7 separate regions of the Homo sapiens genome follow, and all the other regions are linked to region 5. Evidence: promoter capture Hi-C in 16 types of primary human blood cells and fetal thymus (Javierre and others, 2016). All regions are on one chromosome and are shown on one strand. The core of a region is centred on a gene start or on the middle of the fragment in contact, and the rest is flanking DNA. Distances in the headings are between cores, read along the strand shown.

What was found. Contacts are between HindIII fragments. The CHiCAGO score rates a contact against its expected background, and 5 or more counts as called.
Region 1: a contact is called between a fragment that was not itself captured here and the fragment with the promoter of PDGFRA in region 5, in 1 of 17 cell types (M0 macrophages). The highest score is 5.5, in M0 macrophages.
Region 2: a contact is called between a fragment that was not itself captured here and the fragment with the promoter of PDGFRA in region 5, in 1 of 17 cell types (M0 macrophages). The highest score is 6.0, in M0 macrophages.
Region 3: a fragment that was not itself captured here is called in contact with the fragment with the promoter of PDGFRA in region 5 in 1 of 17 cell types (M2 macrophages); the score reaches 5.1 in M2 macrophages.
Region 4: a contact is called between a fragment that was not itself captured here and the fragment with the promoter of PDGFRA in region 5, in 2 of 17 cell types (M2 macrophages and M0 macrophages). The highest score is 6.9, in M2 macrophages.
Region 6: a fragment that was not itself captured here is called in contact with the fragment with the promoter of PDGFRA in region 5 in 1 of 17 cell types (M2 macrophages); the score reaches 7.2 in M2 macrophages.
Region 7: a contact is called between a fragment that was not itself captured here and the fragment with the promoter of PDGFRA in region 5, in 1 of 17 cell types (M0 macrophages). The highest score is 5.4, in M0 macrophages.

What each region holds. Positions count from the first base shown.
Region 1 is chr4:53,434,842-53,438,688 of GRCh38, reverse strand. The region is part of intron 13 of FIP1L1 (factor interacting with PAPOLA and CPSF1); the gene reads right to left. Among named protein-coding and RNA genes, the nearest start is that of FIP1L1, 59 kb to the right of the region's middle. The HindIII fragment of the contact is 2,246 bases long and covers 1,182-3,427 here.
Region 2 is chr4:53,417,799-53,421,548 of GRCh38, reverse strand. All of the region lies in intron 11 of FIP1L1 (factor interacting with PAPOLA and CPSF1), which reads right to left. Among named protein-coding and RNA genes, the nearest start is that of FIP1L1, 42 kb to the right of the region's middle. The HindIII fragment of the contact is 2,302 bases long and covers 553-2,854 here.
Region 3 is chr4:53,480,495-53,484,612 of GRCh38, reverse strand. LNX1 (ligand of numb-protein X 1) reads left to right here. Exons shown (of 11, transcript NM_001126328.3): 7 at 2,759-2,893. Among named protein-coding and RNA genes, the nearest start is that of LNX1-AS1, 18 kb to the left of the region's middle. The HindIII fragment of the contact is 5,424 bases long and covers 1-4,118 here.
Region 4 is chr4:53,453,036-53,457,075 of GRCh38, reverse strand. FIP1L1 (factor interacting with PAPOLA and CPSF1) reads right to left here. Exons shown (of 18, transcript NM_030917.4): 16 at 3,943-4,040. Among named protein-coding and RNA genes, the nearest start is that of LNX1-AS1, 45 kb to the left of the region's middle. The HindIII fragment of the contact is 1,965 bases long and covers 1,716-3,680 here.
Region 5 is chr4:54,227,151-54,230,941 of GRCh38, reverse strand. It overlaps PDGFRA (platelet derived growth factor receptor alpha), which reads right to left and starts at 1,649. Exons shown (of 23, transcript NM_006206.6): 1 at 1,527-1,649. RefSeq lists an enhancer at 2,351-3,176. The HindIII fragment of the contact is 8,996 bases long and covers 1-2,511 here.
Region 6 is chr4:53,692,616-53,696,306 of GRCh38, reverse strand. It overlaps LOC100506444 (a long non-coding RNA gene), which reads right to left and starts at 406. Exons shown (of 3, transcript NR_125918.1): 1 at 139-406. The HindIII fragment of the contact is 1,881 bases long and covers 310-2,190 here.
Region 7 is chr4:53,712,621-53,716,410 of GRCh38, reverse strand. The region is part of intron 1 of LOC100506444 (a long non-coding RNA gene); the gene reads right to left. Among named protein-coding and RNA genes, the nearest start is that of LNX1-AS2, 120 kb to the right of the region's middle. The HindIII fragment of the contact is 1,209 bases long and covers 1,574-2,782 here.

The DNA.
Region 1 (3,847 bases), core at 1,055-3,554, 790 kb after region 5:
TACTACAGCAGTATCATAGGACAGACAAAAATAATCTACTGGAATTAAAGACATAATCAAAGAAAAAACCATGTCATTTATAGGTCTTTCCAATCAATACCTACACATCAGAAAGTTGGCATGGCAACTAGCAAGGGCCCTTCTTGTGAGACCTCCATTTCATCTAAGATGTTATTTCAATGCAAATCTTTATAAGTAAATGTTCATTAAAACAAGACTATAAAGTTGATGAAACACTATATAACCAATTCTTTGACAATTACTGAATGTATTTTCAAACTGATACGTGATATCATGTAAGGCCAACATCATTCTCACTTAAAAATCACTATTTAGTATTTGACTTTTCTTAATAAAAGAGAAACAGTGTAAGGGAAGAGAAAATTCATCTCAAACGTCCCTCTTCTTTCCCCTCCCAACACCTCCATCTTCCTGGCAAACACATGCTGCCTAACCTAGACAACAGACTTAAATAAGGAAAGTATTTTGTTTCTTTTCTATATCCTTTATCTGAAAAATGAGTTTAAAAAAATGTTGATTTTCCTGGAAAGCTGTATGTAACAGTAGTAAAAGTAGATTTCTAGTGCCAGCCAAAACCTTTTGGAAAAGTAATACTCAAGCTCTAACAGACTGAACAGATTAGTGGTATTAAAACTTGAACATAGGCCGGGCGCGGTGGCTCACACCCGTAATCCCAGTACTTCCGGAGGCCAAGGCAGGTAGATCACAAAGTCAGGAGATGGAGACCATCTTGGCTAACATGGTGAAACCCTGTCTCTACTAAAAATACAAAAAATTAGCCAAGCATGGTGGCATGCACCTGTAGTCCCAGCTACTCAGGAGGCTGAGGCTGGAGAATCGTTTGAACCCAGGAGGCGGAGGTTGCAGTGAGCCGAGGTCGCGCCACTGCACTCCAGCCTGGGCAACAGAGCGAGACTCCATCTCAAAAAAATAAAATAAAATAATAAATAAATAAATAAATAAATAAAAACTACCTTGAACATGCATGAGAATCACCTGGAGAGTCTCTTAAAACACACAGATTGCTGGGCCCTTCCCCTAGAATTTCTGATTCAGTAAGTCTGGGGTGGGACCAGAAAACCTACATTCCCCTAAATTTCCCAGATGATGTTGCTGGCCCAGGACTATACTATGAGGATCACTGGATCCGATTCTAAGCTTCCCTCCTAATTTCACTGCTGAGCAATTTAGTACAGACTAAATAAATCCCATTCCGAATTTTTATGAAACAAAAGCATCTACCTATGACACTTAAAAGGACTATGAGAGCCTACACCATCTGGCATTCTCAAAAGAGAAGATGATTTCTCTCTCTTTTTTTTTTTTTTTTTTTTTTTTTTTGGTTGAGACAGGGTCTCACACTGTTGTGTAGGGTGAGTGGCATGACCACGGCTCACTGCAACCTCTGCCTCCCCAGCTCAAAGCAATCCTCCCACCTCAGCCTCCCAAGTAGCTGGGACTACAGGTGTGTACCACCATGCTCAGCTAATTTTTTGCATTTTTTGTGGAGACAGGGTTTCGCTATGTTGCCCAGGCTGGTCTCAAACTCCTGGGCTCAAGCGATCCACCCGCCTCAGCCTCCCAAAGTGCTGTGATTACAGGTGTGAGCAACCATGCCTGGCCTTAATTTTTGCATTTTTTATAAAGATGGGGTTTCTTCATGTTGCCCAGGCTGGTCTCGAACTCCTGAACTCAAGCAATCTACCCGCCTTGGCCTCTCAAAGTGCTGGGATTACAGGAGTGAGCCACCACACCCAGCTTAATTTTTCCAGCATATAACACATACACTTAAATGTAAAAGTGGGTGGGGGTAAGACCTGAAATCCTATTTTGGAGATTGAAAGAACTGAGGCAAAGAAACAGAAAGGCAGCATTCCTGTTAAACATCATATTAAAAAGAATTTACCCATACTAAAAATTCCCACAAAATTAATAGTGGGCTTTGCACTCACAAAAAAACTAAACAGATTGTCTATAAACTCATTCTCAATGTAGTCTATCATAATTTTATATAACTAAGGCAAAATAGCTTCTGACATGGCTCTCAATGATCCCTGTCTGCTGGTATTTATGTCCTGTGTGGGGGCTGGACATTGTGACTTATTTCTACCACACACAAAAAAAATCAAAGGATGTTACTTCCATGACTAGGTTACAAAAGACAGTTATTTCTATTTCACTGGCACCCTCTCTGTTGCCTTCTTGGCTTACATGCTTTGATTAAGCAAGCTAACATATTAAGACGCCTACACCAGTGAGGAACTGAAGCCCTGTCAATGCAACAGCCTAGAAAAAAACAAAATCCTTTTAACAAAGAGGTGAGTGAGCTTGGAGACAAATACTTCCTTAGTCAGGCTTTTGGAGAAGACTGTGAGGTCTGAGAGAGACCTTAAAGCAGAGGATCCAGCTAAGCTGTCCCAGATTCCTGACCCATGAAAACTGTTCAATAATAAATGTATGTTGTTTTAAGCCACTACATTCTGGAGTAACTTGTTATACGGCAGTAGAAACCCAATACATGCAATAACCATCTATCTTTTCTCTATTCAAATTCACATGAAAGAAAAAAAATGGCAGAATATGTAAACTACGCTTCCTATTTCTCACTAGTAAATTCCAAGTTCCGTCGGCACTATTATTTAAGAAACAGATAAACTTGATCACTTTCCTTAAGTCTCATGACTTGTATTTCAAAGCCATCAAGCTCAGAAGTTTTACTCAAAATGAGTAGAAAAGGACAAGGTTTACAAAAATCTTTAAATATCACCTTCTACCAGAAATGCGTTTCTATGTATCAGGATTTTAAAAATTCAACACAAACAAAAACATACGCACACACACGTGTATCATCTCATCTACCATCCACCCTTAAATACAAACCAGAATGTAGAAAGAATATGGCAAAACCATTATTTCATAATTAAAACAATTACAAGGTGCAAAAAAAGTTTTAAGTTATTTTTAAGAAAAGAAAAAAGGGTTAAAAAGTGGTACGGTCACACAACAAAGTAACCAAAAATTTACCAGCATACTTCATGTCTAAAAGGTAAAAAAGGTAATTTTACATACACTATAAAATGGACAAACTATGTTACCTTTATTAGGATCTGTTACTCTTCTATTTTATAAAATCTAAAGCCTACAGAAGATAAACTTCTATCTTACACAAAACATTTTTGATAGAAATACCTATGTTTTTTAATAGAGAACTTGTAAAGAAATGATCTCTACCAGCTTCCATATAATCATGAGACGATCAAAAGAGCAGTGTAAGCAGAAGGCACAAATTAAACTGTAATTAGATTCAACAAAATGTGGTGTCAATGATGTATTCAAAATGTAACTATTATAAAGGGTGCATCCTGGAGGAGAAAGCACATTCAAAAATCAACATCCTAAGAAAGCTTTTAATCTCTATTAAATTTACATTTAAATAAATTTTAATTGTGCCAGAAAATTCTATTTATTATAGATAATTAGCATTGCTCTCTGTTTTGAATTTAATGAAAACACTGATAGGCAGGCTTTTTAAATTGAATATAGAAAAACACAAGAATAAATACAGTTTTCAAAAACTTTGAGTTCTTTTTTAATGGTAACTCTGGAAAATGCTTACATTTCTGGCAAACAGTGCCAGTTAATTTGAGGTAATCTGTTGAGTAAGACCAAAAATTCATGGTATTATAAAATTAGCTTAATAAACATTATAGTCATAAACTAGTTTCTCAATTAAAGGGATAAAAGTGTACTTCCTCAAGGGCACTGATAATATTCATCCAATACAGGCCAAGCTTCTGCCAAAGCAGTGTTCTCAACGTTCTGTCCA
Region 2 (3,750 bases), core at 454-2,953, 810 kb after region 5:
TGTAAATAGATGGCTGTAAACAGTTCTGCATGGAAATTGTGTAGCATCTTTTAAGCTACGTTAGGAAAGAGATGAGCCTTAAAAGACATGTAGGATGGGAAGATAGAACATTTCAGATGGAGGGACAACTATGAGCATAGAGAAAAGATGGAGAGGGGTAGATATGTGCACAATTTCTACGTGGCAAATATATTACCTATCCATTTGCTTGCAACAGAAGTATCATGCACCTTTGATAGTGGTTACCAACCAAAAGACATTCAAAGAGGCAGAAAATGTAAATTAAATGAGAAGCACATAAAGAAAAAGACTGTGAGGCTGTAAAATGCTATACAAATATCAGCTCCCATTGTAACTACATCTATCATTTTACTTCAAAACCGTAGGTGCCTAGCTATCATTTGATTTTAATCTTTATGCCAACCCAGAATCAAGGCTCTAAATCAGTGGTTCTCAACCTTGCCTGCATATCAAAATCCTGATGCACAGGGTGTACACCAGACTATTTAAAATTACATTTCTGGGACCCAGCATCAATACTTTTTTGAAGCTTCCTAGGTAATTCCAATATGGTCAAAGTTGAAGACTACAAATCTAAGGGCATGTTCAAGAGACTGCTAGACATTTTGTTCCCTCCAGAAAGAACTTAAAGTAGCTCATAAAAAATTAATATTTATTTCAAGAAAAATTTAAAGTCATATCCATCAACATAAGAATATCATTGATTACATATTTTTCTACAGATCTTTTAGTTTTGTGGTACTTGAGCCCAGGAATTCGAGATCAGCCCGGGCAACATGACTGGTCTGAAATGGTACTGTTTCTATACCTGTGTGTACGTTTTACTTCCACAAGCACAAGAATAATTTTCTCTACAGTATATACACAATTTATAAAGAAAATATATTCTAATGTTCGAGTAACAATTTATTAATGAAAAATCCCGCCCAGAAAAAGAACCTAGTCTAAAATAAAAATCACAGAATTCAAAACACTTTTCTGGACATACAATTTATTTTCTATCAGTACTACATTTAAAGAGACTGATAAAGCCCATGATGAAAGAGGAGATCCGACACTCACTGAGTGTCTGATTTATCTTTTTTTTTTTTTTTTTTTGAGATGGAGTTTCACTCTTGTTGCCCAGGTTGGAGTGCAATGGCACGATCTCAGCTCACCACAACCTCTGCCTCCTGGATTCAAGCAATTCTCCTGCCTCAGCCTCCCGAGCTGGGATTACGGACGCATGCTACCACGCCCAGCTATTTTTTTTTTAATTTTTTTTTTAGTAGAGACAGGGTTTCTCCATGTTGGTCAGGCTGGTTTTTTTTTTTTTTTTTTTTTTTTTTTTGAGACGGAGTCTTCCTCTGTCGTCCAGGCTGGAGTGCAGTGGCGCGATCTCAGCTCACTGCAAGCTCCGCCTCCCGGGTTCACGCCATTCTCCTGCCTCAGCCTCCTGAGTAGCTGGGACTACAGGCGCTCGCCACCGCGCCCGGCTAATTTTTATTGTATTTTTAGTAGAGACGGGGTTGCACCGTGGTCTCGATCTCCTGACCTCGTGATCCACCCGCCTCGGCCTCCCAAAGTGCTGGGATTACAGGCGTGAGCCACCGCGCCTGGCCTGGTCAGGCTGGTCTTGAACTCCCGACCTCAGGTGATCCGCCCACCTCAGCCTCCCAAAGTTCTGGGATTATAGGCGTGAGCCATTGCGCCTGGCTGATTTATCTTTCAAGCCCTGAAATAGGTGCTTTCACAGCTTAGAATTTATTTAATCCTTACAAGTACATCACATTTAAGGTATATGGGGCCGGCATAGTGGCTCACACCTGTAATCTCAGGTGTGATTTGGGAGTAGGCCGAGGCAGGAGAATCACTTGAGTTCAGGAGATCAAGATCAGCCTGAGCAACATAGTGAGACCTCATCTCTACAAAAAATAAAAAATTAGCCGAGCATGGTGGGCATGCCTGTAGTCCCAGCTACTCGGGAGGCTGAGATGGGAGGACTGCTTGAGCCTGGTAGTTCGAGTTTGCAGGGAGCTATGATCCCACCACTACACTCAACCTGGGAAACAGAGTGAGACTCTGTCTTGAAAAAATAAAAAGTAAAGTACATATCCAATTAGTTTCATTTTCACAGATGTGGAAAGAGGCTCTTTTGCATTGTAAAGTGGCAGCACTAGGATTCAGGCTTAGCATAACCAACTTCAAACCCCTTCCCTTCTTCTTCAACAGTGTTTATCATACTAATTTTCTGGGGTCTGAATTTTTTAAATGTCAATTTTTAAGCTCTATTTAAAACAAAACAAAAAAACCTTGAATGTTTAAAGGTGAAATAAGCCCAAATTTCACTCACTGGAGGACATAAGTGTGTTCAAAAGTGCAAACAAGTTTACTCACTTTTGTACAGAGCTTGGAATAAAGCTCTACCTTCCATATTTATGCTTAATTTCATGCTTTTAAATGTATCAATGATAGGAAAAGACACAGCTCTACAAGAATCTTAAAAAAACAAACAAAAAACCCCAAAGGCCTTCATATGTCCAATAACATAAAATCTTACAAACTACACACTATAGCAACATGCATTCAGAGCACTTGATCAAATGCCCCAAGGTATGGGCACATCTTTTCAGTACAGTGTCTCATCAAGACATAAAAGGAGATAGTCAGAGGAAGAGGTCATTCTTAGATATAATATTCATTTAACGTCCAGTTTTATTATAAGTATTGTGTTTAATAGAAGAAATACATGCATGTTTAAATGTATTCGTGATTTAACATTGAAAAGCAATTTTTACTATTCATTCAAGAGTATGAATCAGTTAAAAAGCATTGTAATATAGGAACATAAGCTTAAGAAAAATAAACTATCACTTGAAAATTAAGAGGAACAGAACTTGGTAACATAAAATGGAAACAAAATAAAAAAATAAACTGTGCATTAGGATATGTTTACAGCAATCATCCATATTACCAGTTTCAATTTCCTGCACTCACTGAAACTGCTTCACTCTTCTAATTAGTTTCACAAGAGTTAAAAATTTGATTTTATAAAGCAAACTTACACCAATAAAATGCCACTGTTATACATATAGATTTAGCTTGAAGAATACTGTTAAAGTTTGAAAAACACTTACAGATTTGGCTTGAAGAATACTGTTAAAATCGGGAAAACACTGTATTATACAAATTAATAGTAACTAGCATATGATAAGGCCACAACTTCAAATATAATAACTGTTATTTATGTATTTATTTATTTATTTAGAGACCAGGTTGGGCTCCATTACCCAGGCTGGAATGCAGTGGCACGATCACAGCTCACTGCAGCCTCACCTGTCCAGTGATCCACCCACCTCAGCCTCCCAGGTAGCTGGGGCCACAGGTGCACACAACCATGCCCAATTAATTTTTGTATTTTTGGTAGAGTTGGGGTTTTGCTATGTTGCCTATGCTGGTCTCAAACTCCTGAGCTCAAGTGATCCACCCACCTCAGCTTCCCAAAGTGCCAGGATTACAGGCAATGTGCCACAGCGCCCAGCCCAAATATAATAACTTACGAAAAACATCTTAATCATTATTTACTTGCTCTTTACAAACATTTAAGCAATGCCTCAAACTCCACATTTGTCAGTTACATTAACTACAAGAGCAGGAATCTAGTTTTTCTTACACTAACAGAGAGTGAGAGTGAGACAGTGTGTGTTTTAAAAGAGAAAAAGTAGCCTGAGAGAGAGAGAGAGAGAGAGA
Region 3 (4,118 bases), core at 1,083-3,582, 750 kb after region 5:
TTGTTTCATTGGTGGATGGTTTTTACTAAAGATTTTTTTTTTCTTTTTTTGAGATGGAGTCTTGCTTTCTCACCCAGGCTTGAGTGCAGTGCCACAATCTCGGTTCGCTGCAACCTCCACCCTCTGGGTTCAAGCAATTCTCCTCCTGCAGCCTCCCGAGTAGCTGGGATTATAGGTGCCTGCCACCACGACTGGCTGATTTTTGTATTTTTAGTAGAGAAAGGGTTTCACCATGTTGGCCAGGCTGGTCTTGGACTCCTGACCTCAAGTGATCTGCCTGCCTCAGCCTCCCAAAGTGTTTACTTGAGATTTTTAAAACAAGGTCCTAGTTCCTGAGAGTGAGTGAGTTGTGTGCTCTGGGAATGAAGATGCAGAAAAGGCATTGTCTTAGTCCATTCATGCTGCTATAACAAAATACACTATCCTAGGTGGCTTGTAAACAACATAAATTTATTTCTCACAGTTCTGGAGGTCAAGAAGTCAAAGATCAAGACACTAGCCGGTTTGGTGTCTGGGGATGGCTACTTCCTCACAGATGGCACCATCTCACTTTGTCCTTACATGGTAGAGGGGCAAACAAGATTCCTCCAGCCCCTTTCATAAGGGCTGTAATCCCCTTAGGAGGGACCTGCCTTCATGACCTAATCACCTCCCAAAGGCCCTACCTCCAAATGCTGCCGTGTTGTGGGTTAGGATTTTAACATCTGAATTTTGGGGAAACATGTTCAGACCATAGCAGGCAGGAAGAAAATATCTCCACCACCATTGTCTGAGTCAATGCAAAAGAGCATGGAATTTCAATGCCCTCATTTCATGACCTTTCTCCCCTAGCCCAATAACCATCCCTGTATAGGAAGAAAGCTGGCAGGTCACTGCCCCTTCTCTGTTGTGGTGGTGAGTGGGCAAGGGATGGGATGAAGAGAGGAACCACCAAACCTTACTCCTCTCTCTTCCATCTCCCTTGTCCCTAAACCAGGTCTGTCTTGGGAATCTTTCTAATCAAATCTTCCATATCTCATTCATTTTCAACTTTTACTAAAGTGATAAATGAGGTCAGCTGGCTACTTCAGCCTAGGCCACCAGAGAGCTCTATTTATGTGAGTTTCATAGGTCTAAGATTTAGTCTGAATGACCTGCAGCTCTGAAATCTCAATGGTCAGCAATTCTGGAATAATGGCCCATACTACCTGACACATGTGAAACTAATCTGTGGCAGAAAGACAATTTGTAAATGTATCATTGTATTTGTCTGCTCTCATGCTGCTATTAAAGACATACCCGAGAATGGGTCATTTATAAAGGTTTAATGAACTCACAGTTTTACATGGCTGGGGAGGCCTCTCAGTCATGGTGGAAGATGAAGGAAGAGCAAAGGGATGTCTTACATGGTGGCAGACAAGAGAGCCTGTGCAGGGGAACTCCCATTTATAAAATCATCAGATCTCGTGAGACTTACTATCTCGAGAACAGCATGGGAAAGACCCACCCCCATGAATCAGTTACCTCCTGCCAGGTCCCTCCGATGACATATGGGAATTATGGGAGCTACAATTCAAGGTGAAGTTTGACTGGGGACACAGTCAAACCATATCGATGATGTGGAGTGGACCTTTCCAATAAGTACTATATTTGCTATTCTGAATGCCTGTCCAAATATCAATGTACATAGCAGAGAGAATTAGCAGAGTAACTGGTAGTTCCATAAAAAATAAAGAAATCAAGGCAAATTACTCTTTTGCAGTTTTTTAAACATTTTGTATTTCAATAGCTTTAGGAATACACGTGGTTTTTGGTTACATGGATGCATTGTATGGTGGTGAAGTCTGAGATTTTAGTGCACCTGTCACCTGAATAGTGTACACTGTACCAAATAGGCAGTTTTTCATCCCTCACCCCACTCACCCTCCCCTTTTCTGAGTCTCCAAAGTCCATTATATTACTCTGCCTCTGCATCTCCAGAGCTAAGCTCCCACTTACAAGTGAGAACATGCAGTATTTGATTTTCCATTCCTCTGTTACTTCACTTAAAATAATGGCCTCCAGTTCCATCCAAGTTGCTGCAAAAGACATTTTTTCATTCTTTTTTGTGGCTGAGTAGTATTCCATGGTATATACATACCACATTTTCTTTATCTACCTATCAGTTGATGGGCACTTAAGTTGATTCCATGTCTTTGTGATTGTGAATTGAAGGTAAAGGATTTTGATTAGGTTGTACATATTAATGTATGAAGTCATCCCCATATTTCTAAAGTGCTAAACCTTTCCTATGCCCAAATATTTGCAAGTGTCAGGCTCAGGATTTCTCTTCCTGCAGTGGCAAGTTACTGCCATTAACTCCATCTCTTTTTCTTTACTGTGTACCATTGATCTTAGATCTTTGCTTTGGGCTGCTACTTTACACAGTGCACCTAATTCTATCTGGGAAGAACTTAGGGCATGGCTTGTGTGTGGTACAACCATTAATTAAAAATGAATTAGCAATATCTGATGATGCCTTTTCAAAGATTGGAAGGAACCAAACCTTCCCTAGTTTTCCCTTGGAGCAACATTTACTACCTGGTTTAAGGATAAAGGAAAGAGCTCTCATGCTCTTGGCAAATTACAAGATGGATAGTAACAAAAAAACCCAACAAACTAGAAATCATGTTTTGCCATAAAAAAATGGTATAATCAAAGTGATGTTTTTGTAAGCTCCTGGTGCTGAATGCAGTGGATGGAAACTGACAGTGGCTAATGCCTGTGTCTTCTTGCCCAGGCCAGTGAAAGACGTGTTCACCTCGTCGTGTCCCGCCAGGTTCGGCAGCGGAGCCCTGACATCTTTCAGGAAGCCGGCTGGAACAGCAATGGCAGCTGGTCCCCAGGGCCAGGGGAGAGGAGCAACACTCCCAAGGTGAGGCCTCTAGGGCAGGTCGCCTGCTCCTGCAAGGGGCTATTTCTTGGGAAGGCTGCTTGTTTTAACATGTCTAAGTGTCATCTCTGGACTTTTTTACTTAAAGAAACACTTTGACTTGTAAAACTAAAAGCCCAAAGTCCCATATTTAAGACTTGGAGAGATAACAGGTGTCTCCCATCCAAGCAGGAGAGAAGAAGGTGCAGGAAAGTTTTGAAACCTGATCATGCAGACCTCATACAGGGACCTGATTTCTAGCCTAAGCCAAATAAATGGCATGTTTTTACCAAGAGTCATCTTGTTTGAGGACTTATTTTATTCACTTTGAAATGAAGCAAGCAGTTTGCCTGGTTTCTGGCTTTTGAATTTTTCAGTCTGCCTAGAAATGAGTGATTTCCCCGCTACTTTTAGTTTTTGTTTGTGTTTGCCGAAGGGCCCAGGAAGATAATTTAAACACTTGAAGCTCATGTAACATTAGGGAGTGGTGGGGATTGGGGCAAACCAGAGAGCACATGTTATATGGCATTCAAATCCAGAAAACTCTAAAACACTGTGGATCTGTGGGTGGAATTCATTCTTCAGGCCACCAGTTTGCAGCCTCACTTTAAATGAAGTGACTCAGCCCAATTTGTACTTCTCTCTGTGGCTTCTATTAGAGGCAATGCCTTAACCTCTTCATTTGGATGCGTGTTTAAGCAACACAAACCTTGTTTAGTCCAAATTAAGAGTCCTATAGCTTTGGCTTGGCATCCTGTTGTGATGCTGATGAGCTTCTTTCAGTCATCTCTCCTGAGTTCTGGTTTCATGGCATCACTTGTAACTAAAAAAAATTCTTAAAGGTAGCTCATTCTTCTTGCAACAGAAAGTAGGGAATGCCCTTTTCTTTCTACGTCAATCTATATGTTGGTTGGAATAGCTTACAAATTGAGTTTTTGAGTAATATATAGAGAAACAATATTCAAATTTTTTATTTTGGAACATCTCTGCTTTATACTATGTTAATTACATAGCCTACAAGGTTATACACCCCTCCAGGTTCTCCAGCCAGCCAAGCCTCATAAATCCATAAATTACCTGTTTCTCTACAATAAGGAGTCTAGACAGACCAGATATATCCTGCTAAAACATTTTATGGATAAGGACTCCGTGATGTCTTTTTGCTAGTAAATGCTTAATGTTTAAATTTAACTGATCATCTTTATTAATGAAAAACTAGTTTATTAGC
Region 4 (4,040 bases), core at 1,449-3,948, 770 kb after region 5:
ATGCTTAATTTTTTCAGAAGCAGAACTTTTTAGTATCATGTCTTCAAGTAGAATAAACTAGCACCATAGGAAATAAATATAGTTAACTTCTCTCAAAAAATGAGGCTTTTCAATGACTCCAACTAGATTTACATAAAAATAGTTAAAGTCAATTATCTCATAATGTGTCATTTGTTAACTCTTTTTCCTCTTACCCTAAAACCAGCTCTTGTTGAACCTGGAGCCTTTAGATTCTGAAAGCAGCCCTGTGATGGGAACCTTATAACAGATGGTAGAAGATTGGGTCCTACACACAAAATATAAAGACCCTCCTCCTTCCATCCCCTTTTCTGATAAGTGGCTGAACCACAAAGGTTTCTCTGGACCTGGAAATTATTAGAGTTCATTTCAAACATCCTAGAATGACCAGCCTTCTTTCTGGCCCATAATTAAGCTCCCTAAAAAACAGAAGTTGAAACTGGCCTGTAATTTTCAAAACAATGGCCCTGTAATTTGTAAAGCAACATATACTACATGCCATACTGCTAAAATACCAGCCTTCAGAAACCTTTACTTATACTTCACTTGGATTTTCCAGAGTGTAATTTTTTCCTGGGATAATTCAGAACAACTCAAAATTCCTCCACTTTTTGCCTCTGTGGCCTTAAACATTTTAGTCAAATTTAGGTAAACATTGACTCCTAATGCCCTACAGTTCAGCAACCTGAATATCAAATGTGGTTTAAACATTAACACTTTTTAAGTTTCAATAAAAACTCAGTAATATCTGTGCATGTATTTGAAGCAGAAGAATTAGAGGATTTAGCCAAATCTTCTATAAACAATGTGTTATTTATGCAAAGAAAATTTATGAGTCCTGCTTGGCAAAGCAATTTATTTTACTCTTATTTCCTATCAAGTTTTGCATTAAGTTCCTTACTTATAAACATGTACATTCTAGAGACAGCAATGCTATCTCACATATATTCATTTCCACATTAGAAACAATTTGACTTTCTGGAAAGTAATGCCCTTGAACTTAGAAGAATCATGCACTTAATTGGCTAAAGTCAACAGCACATTTCCAATTGGCTAAAGTCAACAGCACATTTCCCACCAAGCAAACACAAATCATATACTCATGCACACACACGCATGTGTCATAGTGTTTACTTACTTGGTCAATAAAATTTTATTAAGTGCCTACAATGTATAAGTCATATTAGCAGGAGCCAAAGGACGGAAAAAAGATGAGTAAATCCTCATCAGTTCCTTCTTGTGCATTTTTTTTTGGTAAAGTTTTAAGCTACCGACCAGTCCTAGACAGCTTGACAATATGAGAGGTCTTCAAAAAGTTCACGGAAAATGCATACTATGAAAAAATTATGCATCGATATCAATTTTTTTTGCACCAAAATAAACTCAGTAATTTGTTATAATATCTCTGAACAGGATCTAGTTTGAGGCACTAGTGTAACTGTTTAGGGGTACCATAAGCCGCATCCAGGTAAGTCAACAAACTTAATAAATGTACATGTTCTTGACCGATCCACTGTTCAGGTCATCTCTTTCCTCTCCTTGGGTCTCCCTATTCCCTGAGAAACAATAATGTTGAAATGAGGCCAATTAATAACCCTACAATGGCCTCTACGCCTTCAAGTGAAAGGAAGAATTGCACATCTCTCATTTTAAATCAAAAGCTAAAAATGATTAAGCTTTTAAAAAATGAGGAAGCTTGAAGAGGAAGGCATGTCAAAAGTAATGATAGGCTGAAGTCTAGCCCTCATGTGCCAAACAGACAAGTTGTCAAGCCAAAGAAAAAGCTATTGAAGAAAATTAAAAGTGCTACTCCAGTGAACACATGAATGGTTAAGAAAATGAAAACAGCATTATTGCTGATATGGAGAAAGTTTTAGTGTCTGGATAGAAGAACAAACCAGCCACACAACATTCCCTTAAACCAAAGCCTAATCCAGAGCAAAGCCCAATTCTTTTCAATTTTATGAAGACAGAGATAGGTGAGGGAGCTGCAGAAGAAATGGAAGCTAGCAGAGGTTAGTTGGTTTGTAAGGATTAAGGAAAGACACTATCTATATAACATAAAAGTACAAGGTGAAGCAGTAACTGCTGATGTAGAAGCTACACCAAGCTATCCAGAAGATCTAGCTAAAATCACTGATGAAGGTAGCTCCACTAAGCAACACATTTTTAATGTAGACCAAATAGCCTTATACTGGAAGAAGATGCCATCAAGACTTTCATAGCTAGAGAGGAGAAGGCAATGCCTGGCTTCAAAGTTTCAAAGGACAGGCTCACTCTCTTGTTTCCTAATGCATTGTTCCTTAATGTAGCTGGTGTTTTTAAGTTGAAGTTGGTGCCCATTTACCACCCTGAAAATCCTGGAGTCCTTAGAATTATGGTAAATCGACTTAGAATTATGGTAAATCGACTCTGCCTGTGCTCTATCAATGGAACACCAAAGCCTGAATGGCAGCACATCTGTTTACAGGATGGTTTACTGAATATTTTAAGCATTCTGAACAAACTCTGTTTTTTCCTAACAATAGTAATACTCACTGGGGATGGTGGAAAGCTCCTCCTTCTCATTAAAGGATGCAATTCCATTACATTATTTTCAAAATTTGCGGTATATGTATACAGTCAAGTGTCAGTTAATGACAGGGATATGTTCTGAGAAATGCATTATTAGGTGATTTCATTGTTGTGCAAACACCACAGAGTGTACTTACACAAACTTTGATGGTACAGCCTATTATACACTAGGTGATATGTTATAGCCTATTGCTCCTGGGCTTCAAATCTGTACAGCATATTACTGCACTGAATTCTGTAGAAAATTTTAACACAATGGTGTTTGTGTATCTAAACAAAAGATACAGTAAAAACAGTATTGTAATCTTATGAGACCACTGTTGTACATGTGGTTTGCACTGACAGAATATAAATAACTAAAATCAGGATGAAAATTTTTTAAAACACATACAAGAAAAATTTCCTTAAACATTAAAACTTAACACATAAGTGTGTTGCAGGAAAGACTAATAGGAAAACCCACTTAAAAAGTTTTAAGATTATGAAACTTTTACATTAGAACAAAATTCTTTGAGGGAAGTGGTACAGAAGTAAAAATTTGAATACAAAAAGAAATGTAAAATTTCCAATTCTTAAAGAGAGACTATTTGTACATTTTCTTTAAAAAATGGATAATTTTGGAAAATCACTATAGTGTTTTTAATCCACTGGATATATTTTAAGAGAGTGAGCCTGGGCAACACAGCAAGATCCTGACTCTACAAAAAATTTTAAAAATCAGCCAAGCATGGTGATGCATGACTGTAGTCTTAGCTACTTGAGAGGCTAGGCCAGGAGGATCACTTGAGCCCAGGACTTCCTACGTTAGGGAACAATGCATTGGGAAACAAGAGAGTCAGCCTGTCCTTTCAAACTCTGAAGCCAGGCACTGAGTTCTCTTCTCTAGCTCTGAAAGTCTTAGATGGCATCTTCTTCCAATGTAAGAGTGCAGTGAGCTATGATCATGCCACTGAACTCCAGCCAGCCTGGATGACAAAGCAAGACCGTCTCTAAAAATAGAATAATAATAGAAGTGGTGATAATTTTCTTTTTAAATATTAATATTTATAATACACTGGAAATATCTATATGGTCAACTAATTTAAGCTTAAGATGAAAAACTTAGATGGCAAGATAAAAATAAATGAAGGGGTAGAAAATTCTTTTAAGAGATAAGTAAACAAACAAATTTAAGGACTACTGTTCAAGGTAATGGGAAGCCTCTAATCCTTTATCATTTTAAGATGGCTTTCCTATGTACTCCCTGAGCATCTCTTTTCCAAGTGAACTGAAATTCACTTCCTCATAACGAAAATAAATTTGTAAGTGCTTATAAAATACATAGTATAAACTCCTGCACACCCAACAAACCTGTTGAAAACACTTGGTGTAGGACTGTGATCACGCTCCCTCTCTCTCTCTCTGGTGCGTTCTCTTTCTCTGTCCCGATCACGGTCTCGCTCTCTGTC
Region 5 (3,791 bases), core at 400-2,899:
ACACCCTCCCGGAATAGAACAGCTGATCCCACATATTCAATGCCAAATGGACGCCGCCCGCTCCCTGGGCGCAGCCGGGCGGAGTTAATTTCGTGTGTAAATCTGGTTTCCATGGGGGTAGACAGCAGAGGAAGGAGAAGTACGCACAGACGGCTCTGAAGCCGGCAGGGAGAGGAATGGAAAAAAGGCCAACTAGAGAGGACCGAGCAGCGCTGGGCGAGCTCAGACGGCAAGTGCCACGCACCCCCGCGCGGAGAAGGGTGCCGGGTAGGGGGTGTCCAGGGCTCGGGTGCCCGGAGGGAGAATATGGTTTACCTCCCACCTTTCTGTCTTACCTGCAAACAAGTTTCCCCAGTTCCAAGTCGTCCCTAACTTCCTCACAAGAAGTTCGGCACCTTCCTGGAGACCTTTCCTCTCTTCCTGCCTGCGGCCAGAACTGAGCGAAAGCAGAGCCCCCGGGCAATGCAGAAATGATTCCACCGAGGAGGGGGCGCGGGAAGACAGGCGGGGGCGGGGGCCACGGAGCACAATGAGGGCCCCTTGGTGTGCGGTTCGAAATTCCTCAAATCCCAGTTGCTGGAATGCGAGGCGACGACGACTTCTTCACTCAGGGCCAAATGTGTTTGTCATTATTCCAGACCGCCCGCCCGCGCCGCCGCTGTCGCCCCCGCGCTAGGGCGTGCAACCCGAGCACACTGCCCGGCAGGCACCCGCTCTCCCTGGCACCTCACTGACCCAACAAACCGCTCCAGAGCGCCCCAAACCCTTGCCCACGCCCGCGCGCCTCTGCTTGTCCCGCAGCCGCCTCACCGCCGCGCCAAATCTGGCCCCGACTCTCTCCCAGAGCAGCGCCGTCCAGTAATCACGCGCATTCGGCCGGCTCCCTGTGCTGTAGGCCAACACCGAGGTCCGGTCTCCAGCCGAGCCCAGCCCGCCTCCTGCGCCCCGCAACCCCTTCGCGCGCCCCCCTCCACGCTCCCCTCCACGCTCCCCTCTCCCCACCTCCCCCTGGTCCCCCAGCCGCGCTCCACACCATGGGCTGCAGCGCTGTCCCGCCAAACCGCAGGCGAGGAATGAAAACACTCATTTAAAACCTGTCGCCTTCCAGGACCCACTGCCAAGAAGAGGGCAAACACCTCTGCCTCCACCCCCAGTTCCTTGGTGTTCGGCCCAGTATTCACGAACACCACCCCCACTCCCAAAAGAAACCTCAAAAATGTAAGCCTAAACAATTTCTTTGGGAGGCCATAGGGTTGTTAGAAAAACATTGTTTTTAAAAATAGGTCTGGAAAATGTGTGTTTAAAAAAAATACCTAGACTTTCTAACTCTATGGTTATCTCCCACCCGTCCCCAAGTGAAGTTTATTCCGAAAAAAAAAAATTACTCTCTGGACACACAACTGGAATCCAGCTCCTTTTTTTTTTTCTTGTCGCCCAAAGTTTGAAGTTACTTCGCTTTCTCCAGTCCCAGAGTCTGATCAGGGACTTCCCTTATAAACAAAAAATCATTTTTTCTTTTCCCTTACCTTCTCCTCCGATGTTATTCCGCAATGAATGTCCCACACATGGAGTAAAGAGCGTGCCCACGGCCTCCAATGATCTCTTGCAGTCTCCTCCTCTGTTTCTCTCCCTGTAGCTCCAACAGTAATGGGCTCAAAAACCGCGTTTTGTAATTGATTCAATGTTATAGTCCATCCTTCTAAAACTAATCATTTGCTCTAAGTAAATAGCTGTCAGGAAATAAGCCCCCCCTCAACCTTGGTCTCTTCAAAATAAAAGTTTCTCTCAAACTCCCTGCGCTCCGAATCTCCCAGTGTCCAGATTGCGCCTTCGCTTTTTGCTCTTACGCAATCAGGGGGTCCAGTCCCAACCCCCAGACTTCGACAACAACTGGGGGGCGGGGAGAAGCAGACCAGATGGGATGGGGGGTGGTGGAAGGGGGAGGTGTTGGTGCTCTGCCGGGAAAGAGGTTTTGTGAAACTACAAACAGCCCATCATTTCCAGAATGAGTTTGCCTCCCCATTTTGGGGTTATTTTCTTAGACTGCTATAGTTTTGTATTCTCTTTGAAAAGAAGAAAAGGAACATACAAAATTGCATTTAATACCCAGAGAGAATATAAATCTAGAATCAAGAAATGTCCCTTCTACAAACTCGGCCCAACGAGAAATAGGGCCCTCGGGAGAAATCTCCAAGCGGTTGCGCCGTTTTGAACTAGGGGTCTTTTAGGGGAAGGGCTATATAGTTGCTAGTTATTTAATAGGATTGGGCAAACTGTTGAGTCCAATATGACAATGATGGGTTTTTGTTTTGTGTGGTGTGTGTGTGTGTACAAGACTGGGTGGTCTGAAATACGGTACAAAGAAAAGAGGGTCTGTGTAGGTTTGGAACGTTCTCCGATAGAACGACCTTTACTCCCTTGAAGTCACTTATCTGGTCGTGCCTTTGTTTTCGGGGTTATCTGGGCGAGGTTGCCCTGGCTTCTATCTCGCATACAAAAAAAGCTCAAGCTTGGGCGTTTGAGGAATCGTACCACCGCCTCCGCGTCGTGGGGGAGGATGCCTTTTGATTCTCCCTCCGTTCCCTCCCGCCGCGTGGGTCGAACCCTACGAATTCCTTGGAATTGACAGCTGAGCCCCAAACCCTGCGCCCAAGGCGAGAGGCCAGTGTCGGGAGGAAACGATCCTGCCGGCGAGGGAAAGGGGGCGCTGATGCTCCAGGAACCAGACCTGGGCAGAGTGGGGCTTCCCAGCGACAGCGGGGGAGGGGAGCGCGTTCACCTTCATCGCTCTCTGATTTTTGAATTCTCCTGTTGGGGTTGGGGGTCATCCTTCATCCTTCTCCCTCAACCCCACCCCAACACACGCACTCTGAAAATGGCCAAAGTGGCCAGGTTGGGACTGGCATGTCCAACAGCCGTCTCCTCCTTCACCAGGAGGGTGGACACAGTGCAGTGGACAGGGGAGAGTCACAGAGAAGTACTCCAACGGGCGCGGTGCTGTGCCTAACCAGGACAGGATCTTGGGATGTCAGCCTCGAAAACAGGGCGCCTGGGGCTGCGCTGGGGGTCCCATTGCCGCAGTTCTTCTACGCGACCCGCTCTCGTGCATCTTCAGCTTGGGTGACTGCACCGCTCGCTATTACTTCCACATGTCCCTTCAGGAAATCATTGAAGGCAAATATATGAACAGCCCCTTGTTCGGAATGCTAACAGGATACCGTAATGTTTGTAGAAAATGAGCGGGAACAAACGATCCCCCCAAAAATCAGAGTGCGGAATAAAAGGCAAAAGCGGGTGCTGGGCCACATGCTGTTAAGTTGAGAACCGGGTTTTTAGGCTAGTTGCCCCAGAGGGTAGGAGGCGAGACAGACAGCCTACCCAGAGGGGCTGCTTTGCTTCGGCGACACTGTTAGTCCGGTCAAGCCAGGGTCTTCCGTCCGCAGGGCCCCAGCGCTCTCCGCCCACAAATGGTAACTTCACAGTTCATTTCAGAGCCGTTTAATGGGGCCCGAGAAGCAGTCCGGGCGGGAGTGTCTCCAGGCAGCGACTCCTCGGGAGTTTAAAGCAGAAAGCAATGGATGAGCAAGCGAGCACCCAGTTGTCCTTCTGGTAGTAATTACCTGCCTAATTTGAATGATGCCTTTGTTATGATCATTAACAAACATTTGCTAAAGGTTTCCATGTGTGACATTCTGGAAGGTTTAAAGGCCTGAGGAGCTGACTCCAGGGATAGTGCCCCGGTGGGGGGTGGCGCAAGAAAGCAAATGGTTGGGGGAAAATTTTGCGGAGAG
Region 6 (3,691 bases), core at 1-2,500, 530 kb after region 5:
TAGAATGTCACATATCATTGATAAACATTTGTTTAATGAATAAATGAATGAATGAATGGGTGTCATGCCTAGCATCAAGAAACATACTAAAACAAACGAACTGAAATTAAAAGATGAGTTAATAATAGAGCAACCTACTTTCATCATTTCCTCTTCTGTTTTATCAGCAGGACACTGGGGAAATAGCCGAGTTTTGAAGAATGTCAGCAGGGAGCCACCAGGGATCATCCTCCCCGGTAAGAAGAGACCTCCAGAGACCTTCAGGAAGCTGGAAAGAAGCTTCCAATGGTGAGCTCAGCCCCAGAAGCTTCTGTCCATGCCATCTCACTTCTGAAGTGCTAATTCACCACTTTCACTAGAGATGCTGAAGGTAGCCCTGTCTTGCCTGGAAAGTGACTGGAGTGGTCCCACCAGTGGCCAATTAATCTCTTTTAAACACTCCCTAATGGTCCAGGAATCAATCCCCTACCCCCAAAAGAAGGCTGAGTCAGTTCGTTTTGTCCTCGTGAGTGGTGAATGACCTGCTCTCCTGATCTGCCTGGAGGCCCCTGAGGTTAGGTTTTGGGTGCAAGTGGCTCCCTTGACAGTCTGGAGAGGCTGTGCAGGCATTCATTACCCATGGCCCCAGGCAGAACCTACACCAGGCTACGTGGATGAGAATATGCAAATTCCTTGTTAGACAAGTCCTGTGCTCTGTTTCACATTAGCTAATGTTCACCAACCCAGTCACCAACCGTTTATGGTTTTCCTTCAGTTTCAAAGAACAAATCTTATTATTGTCCTCTGGAAGGGATTGAAGAGTCAAAGAGCCAGGAAAACCCATTTGAGGGACGAGTAAAACTTCCCACAGAAGCAATATCCCTTCCTTGAGCAACTTTGAGTTGCTGGACTTTGTTCTTCACATTTTTGTTTCTCTTTCCATTATTTCTCATTAGACGCAGTGCCCAGGGTCCATGGTACTCTTAGGGACCCACAAAAATGTGTGAGTTTATTTTAAAATCAAGAAGGAAAACAACAAAACTTTAGGGTTAAAAAATTTTGCATTATTGCTCACATCTAAAAAAATGAAATTTTCAAGGTCTAAGAAAATTTAGACTTTGTCTAAAATAAAAATTAAATACAATGTTGAAGAATTTAAAGTTATATCAAAAATCATGTAAAAATTGATATCACATTATGAAGGAAAGGGCCCGTAAAACTCATCTTGTAGCCTTGAGGTTACCAGATGAGAAAAGTGATCTTGTCAGACTGAGAAGCCTGGTGGACCCAGGACATTCAGATCCCTGGCAAACAGCTGAGAGAATTGTTAGGGGAAGAGGCAATTGTTAAGGGAAAATGCTGGGACTAACATTTCTTGAGTGTCACTCTATGGTAGGCTTGGTCCAAGGCATTTTAGTGATATTATCTCATCAAAGCCCTGCAGCAACTCTGAGAAATCATATAACCATCCAGCTTTACAGAGAGTTTAAAGAACTGCTACCAGACTGCTCTCCCGCCATCTCTCTGTACATTTCTCTTTCTTAAAAATAAATAAATAAATACATAAATTCACATGCTAATAAATCCTTCTCAAATTACCTTATCCAAATGTTGATTTGGATTTTTTTTAATGAAGATTTATTTTTTTATTTTTTTGAGACGGAGTCTTGAGATCTTGGCTCACTGCAGCCCCACCTCTTGGGTTCAAGCGATTCTCCTGCCTCAGCCTCCCAAGTAGCTGAAACTACAGTCGTGCACCACCATGCCTGGCTAGATTTTCTGTATTTTTAGTAGAGACAGGGTTTCTTCATGTTAGCTAGGCTGGTCTCGAACTCTTGGCCTCAAGTGATCTGCCCACCTCAGCCTCCCAAAGTGCTGGGATTACAGGTATTTTTTTATCTTTAAATTAGAACTAGAAAGACAGACATTGACCATCAAAGACTTGATTTGGGTTTCAGACAGGTTTGGACAGCGTTCTAGGATGCACCTGGGGTCTTGAGGCACTCAATTAGCTAAGGCAGCCCGCCTTGGAGAATGGGTGGTTTTTACTTATTTTTTGAAACACATTTTTCAAATGTCCAAAGGTAATTTAAAGAAAAACAATTTCACAATCATCAAGTTTTGATTGTGTTGGCCCTCATGCAAACACCCACGCTGTCCTCAGAATGTGGCCTAAGGGCCATTCAATTAGGAAACACAGAAGATGAAGCTTGCCTACTGGAAACAAAATGTCACAAAATCTCTCCTGCAATGGTTTGGATATGGTTCGTTTGTTGCCACCAAAGCTCATGTTGAGATTTGATCCCTACTGTGGCAGCGTCGGGGGTTGGGAGCTAGTGGAAGGTATTTGTGCCATGGGGGTGGATCCCTTATGAATGGCTTGGTGCTGTTCTCATGTTTGTGAGTGAGTTCTCACTCTCTCAAGACTGGATTAGTTCTCCCAGAAATAGATTAGTTCCTCAAGAGGGTGTTGTTACAAAGCCAGGACATCCCTCAGGTTTCTCCCTCTTCCTCATGTCTGCTTCTCCTTACTGTTGTTCGCCAGGTTGTAAAGTAGCATGACACCCCTTGTGGAAAGCCAGGGCCATGGCCTAGCACTTCTCAGCCTGCAGAACCAAGGGCTAGGTAAACTTCTTCTCTTTATAAATTACCCAGTCTCAGACATTCTTTTATAGCAACACAAAGCAGACTAAGACATGGCCCTAGAAAAACAAACAGTGCTGACTTCAGAAGCTGTAGCTGCTTGCTGAGACAACGTGCCTTATTTGTTTATTCAGTGCCTTTGAGCACCTATTGTGTTGTGTGTGGTGCACTGTGCTGGATGCTGGAGGTTAAAACATAAATGGGATCTAGTCCCAGATTTCAAGTCACTCAAGTCTAATAAGGACAACCATCCTGGCCCGAGCCGCTATAGTACTTTGCCTGGCCTATGGCAGGAGCCTCCTCCCTGGTCTCCCTGCATTCACCCTTCTCTTCAGGACACAGGATGCTGTTTAAACATGCGTGAGCCCACACCCCTTTCTGCTCAGTATCCTCCAACACGCCCCACCTCACTCATGCCACAAACTCAAGGTTTCCATTGCTACTCTCTGACCCCATCTTATGCTTCTCTTTCCCTTGTTCTCTCTGCTCCAAGCACAGTGGCCTTTGTGCTTTTGCTAAATCAGGCCAAGCCCACTCCCACATCAATGGTTCTTCATTTGCTATATTTTTGGCCGAGAATACTCATCCCCAGATGCTCCTCACCTGCTCGGGATTTAACTCAAATGTCATTCCAGTGAAGCCTTCCCCAGTGCCCTAGTCAGTATGACAGCTTCCACCCATGTGGGAGCCTCCATGTGCTCCGTCTCTGAATTATTGTATTTCATTGCACTTAGCATCATCTAATCATTGTGTATTTTAATTATTTTTCACTGTCTGACTCCGCTTTGCTTCTTTGCTTCTTTTGCTTCTTTTTTTTTTTTTTTTTTTTTTGAGATAGAGTCTCGCTCTGTCTCCCAGGCTGCAGTACAGTGGCGCAATCTCTGCTCACTGTAACCTCCACCTCCCAGGTTCAAGCGATTCTCTGCCTCAGCCTCCCAAGTAGCTGGGATTACAAGCGCATGCCACCATGCCCAGCTAATTTTTGTATCTTTAGTAGAGACAGAATTTCACCATGTTGGCCAGGCTGGTCTCGAACTCCTATCCTCAGATGATCTGCCCACCTCAGCTG
Region 7 (3,790 bases), core at 929-3,428, 520 kb after region 5:
AGTTTATGCCACTGTTATTTTCATTTTTCTGTCACTTGTAACCAAGTCTACTCCTGATCCAGAGAGTGTTATATAATAAATGAGGCTGGAAGGATAAAACCAAATCAGTGAAGTCATTATAAGGAATCTTAGGAAACTTGAACTTCATCCTGAAGTAATGAAAAGAGAGTGAACATTTTTTAGTAGTGAATGAACAGGATTGCTTACACTTTTTTTTTTTTTTTTTGAAAAATCACTGTTGGGAATGAAAGCATTCTTGGGAAGTGAACTGGAGGGGGCAAGACTGGAGGCAGAGATGCCAATTAAGAGGCTGCTATAAGTAGCACTGCAAAATGGCACACTCTGAACTGCAATCATGGATGCAGAGCTAGAGAAGGTGGATTGCAGGGAAATAGAAGGAGTGGAATCTCTAGAACTTGATTTATCCATGTGCTGGCTGAGAAAACGGGAGCATTGGAATAACTTTCAAGTTTCTGATTTGGGCAGCTGCATCACTCATGAGTGAAAGGCATTAGGAGGAGCAGTTTACTAGGCTTCCAAAAAAAGACCTCCTCTAAGAATAGGGAAACTAAGCAGTAGAAGATTTTAGAAGTAGGATATTAACCCAGTTTCCAATTGCAAGACCATCTGTCAGGTTTTTGATGTAGTCAAAAGCAAGAACCAAACAGATCTGATTCAAAGTTTAGATAAACCATGCCCTTACTTGACCTTGGGCCCAGTTATTTAACCTTCTAGACCATCAGTTTCTTCATCTCTAAAATGGATACAATCACACTAATATCATTGGGCTTTATGGAAAATAATGAAATTCCCAGCTGAGTGCAAGAACATAGTAAATGGACAATACGTGTAGCTGTTGTTATTTACTGCTTGTTAAGTGTTCAGGTCATCTATATGGGAGCATTTTCTCTTCTCCTGCTTAGTCTCTCAAAGATTCTTAGTACAGAGCACAACATGTACTACCTTCACTCTCAACTAAGTCCCATTGGAGAGTACATTCTCCATAAAAACAAAGGTAATTAAAGAGTCCAGTGTGTGCACGCTAGCCCAAGGAAAACTTACTCAAATTGACTTTCACTTTGATTCTCTGCCTGCCCTGAGATCTCCCTCAGCTTCTCCTTCTGGGTATCTACTCCGCCTAGCAGCTCCAGCAAAGAATTTTAAAAATAAAATGTTCTTGATCAATATCTTGATAAATTTCTTAAAGTCTTAATGTGGTGGACAAACAATTCCTTTTTTAATAAGCCTTTTTTTCTTTGAAAGAATCTCAATTGACATGATTGAACCAAAAGAAAATCGGCATGACATATATAATATTAAGCAGCTATAAATCTGGAAGAGATTCAAAACCCAGACAGAAGGCTTTGATTTTTTTAAAGCACATTTAATCATGTTTTAAAGCAAAATGAAAAACCACAAATCTGTTTAGACATTCCAAACATGAAGAAATAATATTTTTATCAAAATCTTGTAACCTTACTCACACCAAAAGAAATTGTTCCTAAGCAGCGCTGACAACTCTGTCTGAGATGTGAATCTGAAAACACGTTTTTAAAATTATACTTTGGAAGCTTTGAATATGCTCAATGAAATTCCAGAATTAATCCACTCCAGTTTTGCAGTAGGCACTGACTCATCTACATCTCCTTCCCTCTTCCCTTTTAGCAAAGCTACCCTACTCATTCCCCCAACACATACACACACACACACGTGCACACACACACACACACACCTTCAGTTAGAACCAATGGCTATGATACATCAAAAGAGTCACAGTTAATCCAATAGACTCTTTTTTTCTGTTCCTTGCCTCGGTTTTTTCACTTTAAATGGAGGAAAACATCTCACTTATCACCTGGAACATCTGCCAAATGAACCAAGATGCAGAGAAGCTCTGATTTAGGCATGGTAGGCTGGCTCTTCATGCTCATAAATCCAGGCTGTTTAGCAGTCCCTCGTAGAATGCCAAGAGAACTGCATGTTACTGATCCCCACAAATGCCAAAATTGCAATGGGTTGACATTTACTGTGCAGTCATCATATAACAAATGATTTACCTAGAAAGAGACACAGTCTTCCAGTGAGATGACAGTTAATCCTTCTTCCAGGCTTGGAGAGGTAGAGAGATTCCAGGAAACAAATTAGCTTTAAAAAGTCTCTGGTTTTAGCTGCATCGTACATAGTTCTTTTTTAAATATAACTTTTTAAAAGATATAATTCACATATATAAAACACATTCTTTAAAAGTGTACAATTCAGTGGTTTTTAGTGTATTCACAAATTTGTACAACCATCACTGTTATCTATTTCCAGAACATTGCAATCACTCCTAAAAGAAACACCATAACCACTAGCAGTCACTCCCCATTCCCCTCCAACTCTCCAGCCTTAGGCAATTGCTAATCTATTTTCTGTCCCTAGAGATTTGCCTACTCTTGACATTCATATATAAGGGATTATACAACATGTGGCCTTTTGTGTCTGGCTTCTTTCACTTAACAATGTTTTTAAGATTGTAGATGGGAGTTTTTGCTGATATGTTGAATTTCTCTTCTGATAACACTAACAGTTATCATATTTGGAGTGCTTCTCAATGCTGAAGTGCTTTCCATGCATAATCTCACTCCATCCTCACAACAGTAGAACGAGACATATACAATTATATCCATTTTACAGACGGGGAATTGACGTTTATAGAGAAGTCAAGTAACTCATCCAAGGCCAAACAGCTAGTAAGTGATTGAGGAAGGATTTCAATCCAGGCCTGCTTGACTCCAAAGCTTGTGATGTTAACCTCCAGGATCCACTGCCAGCATTCTTAGAGATGAGTTCTGTTTTTGTTGCCCTTTCCAGGGTCTTCTTTAAAACAGGAAAAAGTGTATTCCTAAGATGCTTGAGAGTTAAGGCAATTCCCCAGGGGCTGGACTCGTATGCAATGGGTCAGTGAAATGCAGCATGGCCATGTCTGCAAGCTGAGGAGAAGTGAGTGGCAGCTAGAAATGTAAGGCCTCAAGAATTCCAAGATCTCTAAGGAGAATGACCCCAGAGCTGTAGCACCCAGCATACCGGATGGGCAAATAGAAAGCGTGGGGTGTCTGGCTGACACTTGGAATGCCACCGACATCCCTGTCTAGGTCACTCATTGATGGGCTAATACATCAGATTATTAATATAATAATTAATAAATCATTTTTTCACAAAAACTGGTCTTGACAAACATTGGAGAAATATAAGAGCCATGTTGCTCATCACTATACCCTCACAGCAAGGTTCAATCCTAATAATCTGGGCATGGGATTCAATGTGTTTCTAAAGACTCTTTGAGGAGTGACAAAACATCCAAGCAGAGATTCATTAAAAGCTGTTGATTTTTATGTTTCTCCCAGATGAAATGACATAAATTACAGCTAAGATGCACAGTTCAGTCTTTAATCTCGACCAACCACTTCTTTTAATGCCTACCCTGAAATTTCAAGAAGCCACATGGTCAAGGAGAAATCAGCTTCACTTCTCCTGATTTTCATCCTCCCAATCCCTCGAGGCCATTATCTCCACAAATTCGACGTGATTAGAAGTGGAATGCATGGATTGTGAAGAAGCAAAACAGAGCATCTGAGTAATTCTTCCTTAAAACACTGGACCCTGGATGCATTTTGGATGCAGGTGCAGAGGAAATGGTCTTTAAATGATGACAAATTTTTAGGCACATGGTTAAAATGAAGCCAACCAACCTCAAATGCTCAGATTTTCATCCCACTGTGATTTTGAACTTGAGTTAAAGGGAGGCCTG